4 separate regions of the Homo sapiens genome follow, and all the other regions are linked to region 2. The links are contacts of gene promoters, found by promoter capture Hi-C in human tissues and cell types (Jung and others, 2019). All regions are on one chromosome and are shown on one strand. The core of a region is centred on a gene start or on the middle of the fragment in contact, and the rest is flanking DNA. Distances in the headings are between cores, read along the strand shown. Region 1 holds the start of LOC105372631 (a long non-coding RNA gene). Region 2 holds the start of UBE2C (ubiquitin conjugating enzyme E2 C). Region 3 has its middle 14 kb from the start of WFDC2. Region 4 holds the start of WFDC6 (WAP four-disulfide core domain 6).

Region 1 (2,700 bases), core at 122-2,621, 380 kb after region 2:
GTGATCCTGCCCACCTCAGCCTCCCAAAGTGCTGGGATTACAGGCTGAGCCACTGTGCCTGGCCCCTCTTTTTACTTTTTAAAAAAGCTACTAGGAAATTGAAAATTCGATTTGTGGCTTGTATTATATTTCTGTTGCACAGCACCATAGTAGACTTTGGGGAGAGATTTCGCTTGTTTGTACTATTTAGTTTAGTTTGATCTTTTAAATAAGTATGGTTATTCATATAAAACAATACACTCATTATTCCTAAATTGAATAAATAAACCAATGGACAAAGAGCTATGCTTTCTCCCCTGGGATGTTGAGACAACTAGCTGGGAGGCTCTGGATGGGAACCAATAACAAAAGAATGGAGAACAGCTGTTCATTGTCCAGCCCACTCCCTTTACAGATAGGAAAACTGAGACCCCAAAGGTCACTTACCACTCTAAAATCTCATGGACTCAAGTGTGCAGTAGATGAGGCTGAAGACTGGCATTTCAGCTGAGGCAGGAATACTGACTTAGGGGACATTCTCAGTAGCTCCCAGGAGCCCCTCCAAGGTGTGTAGCACCACCTCCAGACAAGGAGTCCACTTCATCCCGGCTCATACCTCTTGCCCAGAGTGCTTCCTCTTCCAAGAAATCAAAAACAAGATATTTCCTTTGTCCTGTGGAAACAGGGACTCTTCTTTTTCTGCAGGTATAAGTTCCAGCCTCCCAGCCCTGGCTCATGGAGCTCAGCCCTTGGCACCATGGAGCTCAGCAGCTTCTGTGCCCTGCCTTGCCATCTGCCTGGTGGGCATGACCAGCTCAGAAAAGACCTCAAGTGAGCTGAAGTGCTATTGGGAAAGAGGACCCTGAGACCCATAGCCTATGGGACAGGGCTGGCTCCAACAGGCTACCCGGTCACTTTCACCTCAGCGGGAGTCCAAGGCCCAGATATTGAAAGGGCTCACCTGTGGTCACCCTTCAGTCTGGGGGAAGACCTGGGGCCAGACCTCCCAGATGCCTATTTGATTTAATTAAGTCTTCATCAAATTATTATTTTATTATTATTATTATTCAAGATGGAGTCTCACTCTGTCGCCCAGGCTGGAGTGCAGTGGCCTGATCTCGGCTCACTGCAACCTCCACTTCCTGGGTTCAAGTGATTCTCCTGCCTCAGCCTCCCGAGTAGCTGGGACTATAGGCACCCGCCACCACGCCTGGCTAATTTTTGTATTTTTAGTAGAAGCGGGGTTTCACCATGTTGGCTAGGCTGGTCTCGAACTCCTGACCTCAAATGATCCACCCACCTCGGCTTCCCAAAGTGCTGGGAGTGGTGTGAGCCACGACGCCCGGCCCAAATTTTTACTTTTATTATAAACTCAACATATACTTTTGTTTTAAAAAGACAAACAATACATAAATTGTTATAAAGTTAAAAGTGAGTTCTCTGTTTTACACAATCTTATTCTGAAAAGTATCCATTGTTAGAATGCTTAGGAGAGACAGTAAGTTTTCATACTACTTTAAAAATAAGACCAAGTTCTTAAGCTTGGCTACACATTGGTGTCACTTGGAGACTCTGTGAGTCCCACATTAAATTCTGATTTAACTGGTTTGGGTAAAGCCTGGGCATCAGGATTTTTTCAGTTCCCCAGGTGAATGTAGCGTGCTAGGATAGCAATTTGAAATAGGGTATGGCCAGGGAAAACCTCACTGATAATAGTGGAGGTGGTGAAAAGGGGTGGGATTCTGGATTTATTTTGAAGGTAGGGTGCAAACAGGATGAGAGAGAGACAAGGATGACTCAAAGGTATTTGGCCTGAGTGCCTGGAAAGACACGAATTACCTTTTACAGAGATGAGGTGACTATGGTTGGGCCTGTTTGGGGTGGGGTGGAGCACATCAGAAGCTCGGTTTTGGAGATATTCAATTTGAGATGTCTTTAGACATCCAAATGGAGAAAGCAAGTAGGCAGTTGGGTAAATGAATCCAAGATCCAGGGAGGAGGTCTGATCTAGAAATATGTGGGTGTTGCCAGAGCGTAGGTTACATGTGGCATGGTAGTGGAGGTCGTTTCTAGGTACTGACAGGGCTGCGGGTATAAAAGAGAGCCAGGCCACAGCTCTGTGCTCTTCTGACTTGGCAGACACCCCATGCTATGCATGCTCCATCCCACACTAGGCACACTACACAGACCACTTAGCTTTGTGTATCCACTCACCTGCGTTCCTGTCTCATTTACAGTCTGCTCCTTTACTGCTTTTGAAGTAAACTCAAGTAAAAGCACCTTGAACAAATTGCCTTTGCCCATGGTCTAGACTAGCTCACCGCCTTTCCTTCCTACATATGCACACATACCACCCGCATGTGCTGAGGGCTCCTAAAACCCTTCAAGGAACCTACACAGCCCATCTATGCTGGCTACAGAGACACCTGTACCACTGTGTTAAGACTGCTGCACTCACACATGTGGAGCTTCCAGAGTGCCCCTTGCCCATCCCTATCTTGGATCCCAGATCTCAAGCCAGAATAGCCCATACCCAGTTAATACATTTAGCGTTTGCTGATTGAGCACTTACATGTCCTGAGATGGGTCAGGTCTTAATGAAAGACAGAACCTGTGCCTCCAGGAAGCACACCATCTGGTGGAAGTCAAAGGACAGCAGCCAGCTGATAAGGAACACGTGTTAAGTCCAAGGCAATCTGGAAGCAAAGGCGTGGGGCACGG
Region 2 (2,700 bases), core at 129-2,628:
ATGATTCTTGTGCCTCAGCCTCCCGAGTAGCTGAAATTACAGGCATGCACCACCATGCCTGGATAATTTTTGTATTTTTAGTAGAGACAGGGTTTTGCAATGTTGGCCAGGCTGGTCTCGAACTCCTGACCTCAAGTGATCCGCCCACCTTAGCCCCCCAAAGTGTTGGGATTATAAGGTGTGAGCTACCGCGCCCAGCCTCCCCTTAATCTCATCACTCTGATCCAAAATAAAGCAACCAAATTCATAGGCTAGAAATACCAAGAAGGGCGGGGAGTTGGGTGTGGGTAAAGCTTGGTTGGGGCTAGGAAGTAGGGACACACTGGATAGGGAGGGTCTTGTATGACTTCAGGGAAGTGTTCGAGATAACTTCGTGTGGGGGGATGGAATTGGGAGGAGGGACTGCTGGAAGAAATGGTGTAGGTGGGGTGTATGAACTTCTTTCCCAGGAGGGAGCAAATTACATTACCCCTATGTCTAGCAAAAAAGCTGACGGAAAAAAGGAGGCTACTGAAAATTGGATGGAAGGCTGGGGTTCTGGGCACTTAATCACTCACCATGAGGGTCATCAGCTCCTGCTGTAGCCTGAAAAAAGAGTATTCGGGGTTACCTGGGAGTCTGGATGGGCCAGGCCTCCAGACGGTGCATCTTCTCCCACCTGAATCTCAGGGGGAGCCGTCATGGAGGCTCCCCACATCACCAAGGTCAGGCTCAGCTCAGGGTATACTCACCAGATCCACAGGACGATCCTAGCGAGTCCTCACCCTCCCTAATTCCAGACTCCCTCGGGATGATTCTGGCATGTTCTTAATTCCCCAGGCTTTAGCATCTCTTCCTTGCCCGACTCAACTTCTCCCTTCCCCTGTCTCGGCCAAGTCACGAGGGTCCTTGAGCGTCTTCATCTAGGCCCACCAGGGAAGGAGTCTGGCAGCGCCCCTACCCTCCCATTCTCCTTCGGGAGAGTCTCAAAGAGCGGTCTGAGCTCCTGGCCTGTCCCCCATCTCTCGAATCTCACCCGCGCAAGGAGGTGGGAGTCCCGGAAGTCTCCGCCCTCGACACCCATGCCCAGGGGAATGCCAGGCCCCGAGCTCCTGGTGTGTTCTCCTGCACCCGCAGATCTCCCGCTCCAGGAGGTGGCGGCGGGGGGTGGTCCTAGAAATCTTTGCTCTGGGTACCAATGCCTAGGGCATGGCAGGCCCGGCGAGTGGTAGGCCGCATCACTCACCTTTTGCCCACCGGACCCCGGGCGGCGCCCCCGCTCGGCTCAGCTCCTTTACGGGCGGCGGCGACGCTAGTGGCGGCTGGGTCGCGGTTTTGGGAAGCCATCCGGGCGGCGTTGGCAGAGAGACAGGAACTCGGAGAACACGACTGCAACTGCAGGACTGCGGGCCCGCCCGCCCGCGTTTGAATTGTAACCCTCTGGGGGCGTCGACCAATCAATGGCTCGCTTGGGTTTGATCCAGCCAATGAGACGCTCCGGAGCGCTCTATTGCTGCGCCACTGCTAGACCTACCCACTGGCGCACCGCTATTGGGCGGCAGAATCCCGCTTCTGACAACCGATTGGTAGATGATGCTGCCATTAACTAACGAATCCGTAGCGAATTGGTGGCCGTTGGAAAACGCTAACCATTAAAGGGCCAAGAAAACGTCCACGTGGGATGAACCCCTCCTTCTGGCTACACGTCTTACTCCGCGTGGGAACACTCGGCACGCCCAGCCTTGATCCAATTTCCCTCGGGCAGGGAGTGCCTCCAATCCTGCAGCACTGGTACCCTCCCACCATTATAATCGCCTGGGCACCTTTGCTGCGTCCTAAGTATCTGAAAATCCCAGCGAGGGGAAAAACTAAAGGCTGATGGCCAGAGCAGCAGGCTCCCTATTAGAAAACATAGGTCCATACATCTCCGCAGAGATGACAGAAATAAAAAAAGGCAACATTGGTTCAGGCTGGTCGCAGTGGCTCACGTCCGTAATCCCGAACACTTTGGAAGGCCCAGGCAGGAGGATCACTTGAACCCAGGAGTTCGAGACCAGCCTGAGCAACAGGATAGGGAGACCTGTCTCTACTTAAAAGAAAAAAAAAAAAAAAGAAAAGAAAAAAAAAAAAGGCTGGTGAGGTGGCACGAGCCTGTAGTCCCAGCTACTGGCGAGGCTGAGGCGGGAGAATCGCTTGAGCCAGAGGCTGCACTCTAGCCTGGGCAACAGAGCAAGACTGTCTTCAAACAAACAAAAACCCCAACAACACAGGTTCATATCCTGTATATCCTACCTCCCCAGTGGGTAGTGTGTAACCTTGGGGCGGGTCCTTTAGTATCTTAACCTGTAAAATGGGAGCAATAAAAGCCAACTCTATTTTTCATATGATCTGTCATCAAACTCCATCGCATTCTGCCATGTCCTTACATTAGCTGGGTAAGGAAACTACAAATGGGCAAAGGGAAGACGGGCAGGGTACATGGTGCTCCCAGGTTGGTCTTATCAAGCCTGGCTCTATACTGTTATGGGTGAGGGTTATCTCGTCCTTTTTTCCTACACCCACTTCTAGAGCCCTTGATGTTCTGTCAATTCCCACAAGGTAGAGGGCACAGCAGGTTCACCATCTGTGTTTACTACAAACTGTTTAATTGTTTCTTATCCCAATAACTTTACAAATATAGAACCACATGCTAGTCTGGGGGTGCTGTGCAGTGAGTCACTA
Region 3 (2,700 bases), core at 32-2,531, 360 kb after region 2:
GGAACGAGACTCTTGACTCAAAAAAAAAAAAAAAAAAAAAAAAAGTCCATGATGTAAAGTAACTAAAAAAAAGAAAAGAAAAGAAAAGAAAGAAACCCCTTCTCCATGCTGCCCTCTCAAAAAACAAAAACTTCTTCGCCAGGCTTTCTCTAATGTCATACTTCATGCATTCCTGAGAAGTGGGCAGAGCAGATTTTGTCATCCCCACCTTACAGAGGAGAAAACAGTGGCTGAATTGGCATCCCAAGTTCAGGCAGCATAGCACAGGACCTGCAGGGACATTCCCAGCAAGTACTAGAAGAATTCGTGTGAAATGCTTCATAAATGCTTCTAAGGAGCATAACTGTAAAACAGATCCTTGTGGCAGTGTTTATTGGCTGCATTACATGATTACATGAGTGTTAAAAGGGATGCTTGAATTATCACACGTGGCGCCACCTTCTGTTGTAAACGAGAACCTGAGGGACAGGTGACACTCTCCAGGATCACGCGGTAAGGCAAGAGCAGAACTGCCCTTTTCCTATCATTGTGATTCTATATACAACCCCTGGGCCATGTCAGCCACTCCTGCTGTACCATTTTCCAACTGGGTGAAAAACCTCAGATCTCTATCCATTCCAGACCTCTCTCCATTGTTGGTGTGTTATGTTCTCTTCATGGCAGCTGGTGACCTTTTAAAAATTAAATCAGATCACGTTACTTTCGTGTTCCAAGCCCTTCTGTGGTTTCCACTGTACATGGAATTACAATCTAAATACCTTGTCATGGCTGTGATCAAGCCCCTGCCTATCTTTTTCTGCCATGCAGGAAGAGTTTGTTCCTGCCTTAGGACTTTTGCATTCATTCTTTCTTCTGCATCCACCAGAGGCCTACACGGCTCCTTCCTTCACTCCACTCAGAACCATCCTGCCTAAACTGGCCCCTCTTCACCTTGTATTCTGAGTTATTTTCTTTTTTTTTTTTATTATTATACTTTAAGTTCTAAGGTACGTGTGCACAACGTGCAGGCTCATTACGTAGCTATACATGTGCCCTGCTGGCCCACTACACCCATCAACCCGTCATTTACATTAGGTATTTTTCCCAGGGCTATCCCTCCCTCCCTGAGTTCTTTTCTTCATAGCAGTTATCACCACCTGAAACTTATCTCACTCAATTATTATTCTCTCCAGCTGAAATGTCAGCTCCAGGAGGGTGGGGAGCTTGTGTGCTGCCTTCACTCTTGTGACCCAGCACCTAGAACAGTGCCCAGCACATACAGTCGGCACTCAATCATAGCATGGCTATTGAGTCCTTCCTGAGTGCAGGCACTATTCCAAAGTCTATACGTGTATTAACCTCCCCTCCCTCAGTAACAACCAAAGAGGCAGGAGCTGTTATTACCAACCCCATTTTACAGATGCATCAATAATGACAGAGAAGTGAAGTGACTTGCGCACACAACCAGTAAATTGGCAGAGTCAGATTTGAATCCATGGAGTCTGGTCTGCACTTTCAATCACCGAATACCCTTTCTAAGAAACGTGTGCTGAACGAGTGCATGGATAAATCAGTGTCTACTCAACATCTTTGCCTAGATATCCCGCAGAGATGGGGTTTTGCTATGTTGGTCACGCTGGTCTGGAACTCCTGGCCTCAAGGGATCCACCCGCCTTGGCCTCCCAAAGTGCTGGGATTACAGGCATGAGCCACCGCATCAAGCTTTTTCCCCTATTTTACGGAGAAGGAAACTGGCTCAGAAAAGTGAAGTGACTTGCTTATGGTCACACAGTAATATCTACTAAACAGTCACATGGTAATAGCTACTAAAGCCGAACCCCTCTAATTAGTACCAAGCTCCTTGGCTCGCGCCTGTAATCCCAGCACTTTGGGAGGCCGAGGCAGGCGGATCACAAGGTCAGGAGATCGAGACCATCCTGGCTAACATGGTGAAACCCTGTCTCTACTAAAAATACAAAAAATTATCCGGGCGTGGTGGCGGGCGCCTATAGTCCCAGCTACTAGGGAGGCTGAGGCAGGAGAATGGCGTGAACCCGGGAGGCGGAGCTTGCAGTGAGCTGAGATCTGGCCACTGCATTCCAGCCTGGGCGACAGAGCGAGACTCCGTCTCAAAAAAAATAAAATAAAATAAAATAAAAAATAAATAAGTACCAAGCTCTTTTCCATTATAAACTTATTGATTATTATTACTAATGAATATTATTACTATTACTTTTATCATCCAAGCATTATTTATCGAGAAGTTATTCTGCCAGGTACTTGTACAAGGAATTTCACAAATATCATAGCATTTAATTATCACTATGATTCTGTGAGATCAACATGAGAAAAAAAGCAGAGGCTGACTCACGCCTGTAATCCCAGCACTTTGGGAGCCCAAAGCAGGCAGATCACCTGAACCTGAGGTCAGGAGGTCAAGATCAGCCTGGCCAACATGGTAAAACCCTGTCTCTACTAAAAATACAAAAATTAGCCAGGCTCAGTGGCATGCACCTATAATCCCAGCTACTCAGGAGACTAAGGCATGAGAATCGCTTGAACCCAGGAGGTGGAGGTGACAGTGAGTTGAGATCGCGCCATTGCACTCCAGCCTGGGTGACAGAGCAAGACCCTGTATTGAAAGAAAGAGAGAGAGAGAGAGAGAGAAAAGAAAAGAAAAGAAAAGAAAAGAAAAAAGAAAAGAAAAGAAAAGAAAAAAGA
Region 4 (2,758 bases), core at 251-2,750, 270 kb after region 2:
GCAGTGAACATACACATGCATGTATCTTTATAAAAGAATGATTTATATTCCTTTGAGTGTATACCCAGTAATGGGATTGCTGGGTCAAATGGTATTTCTGGTTCTAGATCTTTCAGGAATTGGCACACTCTCTTCCACAATGGTTGAACCAATTTACATTCCCAACAGTGTAAAAGCATTCATGTTTCTCCACAGCTTTACCAGCATCTGTTGTTTCTGGACTTTTTAATAATCACCATTCTGACTGGCATGAGATGGTATCTCATTGTGGTTTTGATTTGCATTTCTCTGATGATCACTGGTGTTGAGCTTTTTTTCATATGTTTGTTGGCCGCATAAATGTCTTCTTTTGAGAAGTGTCTGTTCATGTCCTTTGCCCACTTTTCAATGGGGTTGTTTGTTTTTTTTCTTGTAAATTTGTTTAAGTTCCTTGTAGATTCTGGATATCAGACCACAAATTTTCTTAATCTGTCTCCAGTGATGGGAAAGCTAAGCTATTTGTCCACTGATTCCCAACGCCCACTGGATGCCAGGGATACTAAATCCCTCGCTCTTTCAAACTGTTATACTTGCAAGCTATACAAGCTCCCTGGGGGCCAGAGAAAACCCACAGCAGAAAATTAGGGACTGATGCTAGAGGTAGGAGGCTGTCAATGTGCATTGGCTATTATTCGGCCATAAAAAGGAATGAACTTCTCACTCACCACTGATGACATGCCTTGCTGCACACACACCCTGCTGCCACCCTGCAGAAATGCTTCCATTACCCACAGTCCTTTGCCAGATGGAACTGATGCCCAGGTAACTGGCTCCTCACCTCCTTCGGGCTTATACCAAGGATATAAAACTTGGTACAGATGCTCAAGCGTTAATGCTTCAGGGTGTGACTTTTAATCCAATGCTGTAGCTGTGACAACAGGGAAAAACGGAGAACAGAGTTGGAGAAGTCCCAAAGTAATGAAAGAAGTTATTTACTGTTGCAAAATCAAACGACTTAAAGGATAAATGTAACTGATCTTTACATACGAAAGAAGAGAGAGGGAAGTGAAGGGCGGGGAGAAAGAGACTCAGACAGACAGAGACTCCCTGAGAAAAAGACAGGCACAGAGTAAAAGACATACAGATGCACAGAAAAGAGAAGAAACAGAGTGAGAAAAATAAAACATAAGAATAGACATGTCAGGAGAAGAGTGAAATTAGAAAGAAGGAAGAGAGCTAGCATACTGTTAACCTGCAAACTCCCCCTGGGAAATGGAAGACTCTGGAGTTAAACCTCCCCTTCTGCTAAGGGAGCCTGGAAAGCCCAAGACAACATGTGCCCTCTTTCCCTGGTAGACCAGAAAGCCTCAGATTGCTGAGGATTAGGAGCCACCTATCCCCCAGTGTAGGTACCAGGTAGTCCCACTGATGGCCTCAGGGATCTGGTGTTCCTGATCGGGGAGTCTGGCTGGCTTGTCTCCAGGGCTGTCTCTTAAGGTGCTGGGCCACACCGGGGCAGGCAAAGTGCAGATGTAGGAGCTGCTGAGGAGCAGTTCTTAGTTTTGGTGCCATCAACCAGGCCAGTACTTCCTAAAATGGGACTCTCAGGACTTCTGCCAATCCTGGTACCATTCATCCTTTTGGGGGACATCCAGGAACCTGGGCACGCTGAAGGCATCCTTGGCAGTAAGTATTGGGAACTCCGTCCTTGCAATGGGGAAAGGAAACTCAGTGGGGAGGAAGGAACAAAGAATAATTTTGCAGCTGAGAAATTATTTTCTCCACCTCTGCCTGGAATTCCAGGTGGGAAAGAGGGGAGCTATTTGAAGTCTCTTGGTAAGAGACTCCCTTGGTGAATACAGGCATCCAAATCTGTGGCAAGTGACTCCTTGCTGCCATTCCAAAGAGTTCTTCCTGGAGGTGCCTGGACCTAGAGCTCATGAAATGAACTAAGAAGGAGTAGTAAGCCCAAGGAAGTCTCCCACAAGAAAAACAGGCTGCTCCCCACAACACCACCTGTGTCAACTTCCAAATGTTCTCATTGCAGCCCCCACACCCATACCCACAGAGGACCCTGGTCTTTGGGTTAAAGAATGGTCTCCAGAAGTCCCTTGGAATGCTGAAATGTGAAGACTCACAATTAGCAGCTAACTGTACTGGGCACTGAAAATTAGTGGTTGAAAGTGAGCACTCAGGAGCCACACATTGTAGGTTCAAACCTGGCTCCACCCCTGAGTAGCTGTGTGATCTTGGGCAAATTCACATAATCTCCTTATGCTTCCAATTCTTCTGTTTACAAAATGTGAATATTAAGAGTACTTACCCATAGATTTGTAATGAGGATTAAGGAGAAAAGGCAGCTCACAGTAAGTGCTTCATCCATATTACTCATTGTTACGTTACATTGCCCCAGGCAGTTTGACGATGGCTTGTCAAACTGTGTTGCTGGTTAGTCTTCAAAGCAACCCTATGGGCAAATGAGGAAATCAAGGCTCAGAGAGAGTGCCTGGCACACCAAGCGTCTCACAGAATTCAAAAGCCCAGCTATCTGATGCCAGAAATGTTAATCTCAATCATCGAGAGCCACAGCACCTCCTGGGGGAGCAACCAAGCACAGCAAGGCTGAGTGACCAGAACAGTCTTAGAGGAATGCGTCTTTCTCTCAGGAATCTCATAGATGGTGCGGGTAGGGGGTAGGGGTTGGTTTAGGCATCCGATGGTGAGTTGTTATGGGGTTGGGGATGTGAGCAGTGTTGTGAAATTCCTGAGCCCCCTGAGG

Evidence for each region. The method cuts DNA at HindIII sites, captures the fragments that hold promoters and counts their contacts. A contact is called where the count stands out against the background at its distance.
Region 1: a contact is called between a fragment that was not itself captured here and the fragment with the promoter of UBE2C in region 2, in 1 of the 25 tissues and cell types used here (heart left ventricle).
Region 3: a contact is called between a fragment that was not itself captured here and the fragment with the promoter of UBE2C in region 2, in 2 of the 25 tissues and cell types used here (mesendoderm cells and thymus).
Region 4: a contact is called between the fragment with the promoter of WFDC6 here and the fragment with the promoter of UBE2C in region 2, in 3 of the 25 tissues and cell types used here (H1 embryonic stem cells, adrenal gland and mesendoderm cells).

What each region holds. Positions count from the first base shown.
Region 1 is chr20:45,427,397-45,430,096 of GRCh38, reverse strand. LOC105372631 (a long non-coding RNA gene) reads right to left here and starts at 2,675. Exons shown (of 4, transcript NR_159957.1): 1 at 2,552-2,675; 2 at 427-652. The HindIII fragment of the contact is 8,003 bases long and covers 1-2,700 here.
Region 2 is chr20:45,811,322-45,814,021 of GRCh38, reverse strand. It overlaps UBE2C (ubiquitin conjugating enzyme E2 C), which reads right to left and starts at 1,378. Exons shown (of 6, transcript NM_007019.4): 1 at 1,226-1,378; 2 at 558-585. The coding sequence starts at 1,326. It overlaps DNTTIP1 (deoxynucleotidyltransferase terminal interacting protein 1), which reads right to left. Exons shown (of 13, transcript NM_052951.3): 13 at 2,604-2,700. RefSeq lists a silencer at 1,386-1,575. The HindIII fragment of the contact is 8,392 bases long and covers 1-2,700 here.
Region 3 is chr20:45,454,580-45,457,279 of GRCh38, reverse strand. No RefSeq gene overlaps it. Among named protein-coding and RNA genes, the nearest start is that of WFDC2, 14 kb to the left of the region's middle. The HindIII fragment of the contact is 4,216 bases long and covers 1-2,700 here.
Region 4 is chr20:45,538,224-45,540,981 of GRCh38, reverse strand. WFDC6 (WAP four-disulfide core domain 6) reads left to right here and starts at 1,500. Exons shown (of 3, transcript NM_080827.2): 1 at 1,500-1,665. The coding sequence starts at 1,575. All of the region lies in intron 3 of EPPIN-WFDC6 (EPPIN-WFDC6 readthrough), which reads left to right. It overlaps EPPIN (epididymal peptidase inhibitor), which reads left to right. Exons shown (of 4, transcript NM_020398.4): 4 at 1-356. It overlaps LOC107987282 (a long non-coding RNA gene), which reads right to left. Exons shown (of 4, transcript XR_001754641.3): 3 at 2,303-2,446; 4 at 595-907. It also overlaps the pseudogene HSPD1P21. The HindIII fragment of the contact is 28,992 bases long and covers 1-2,758 here.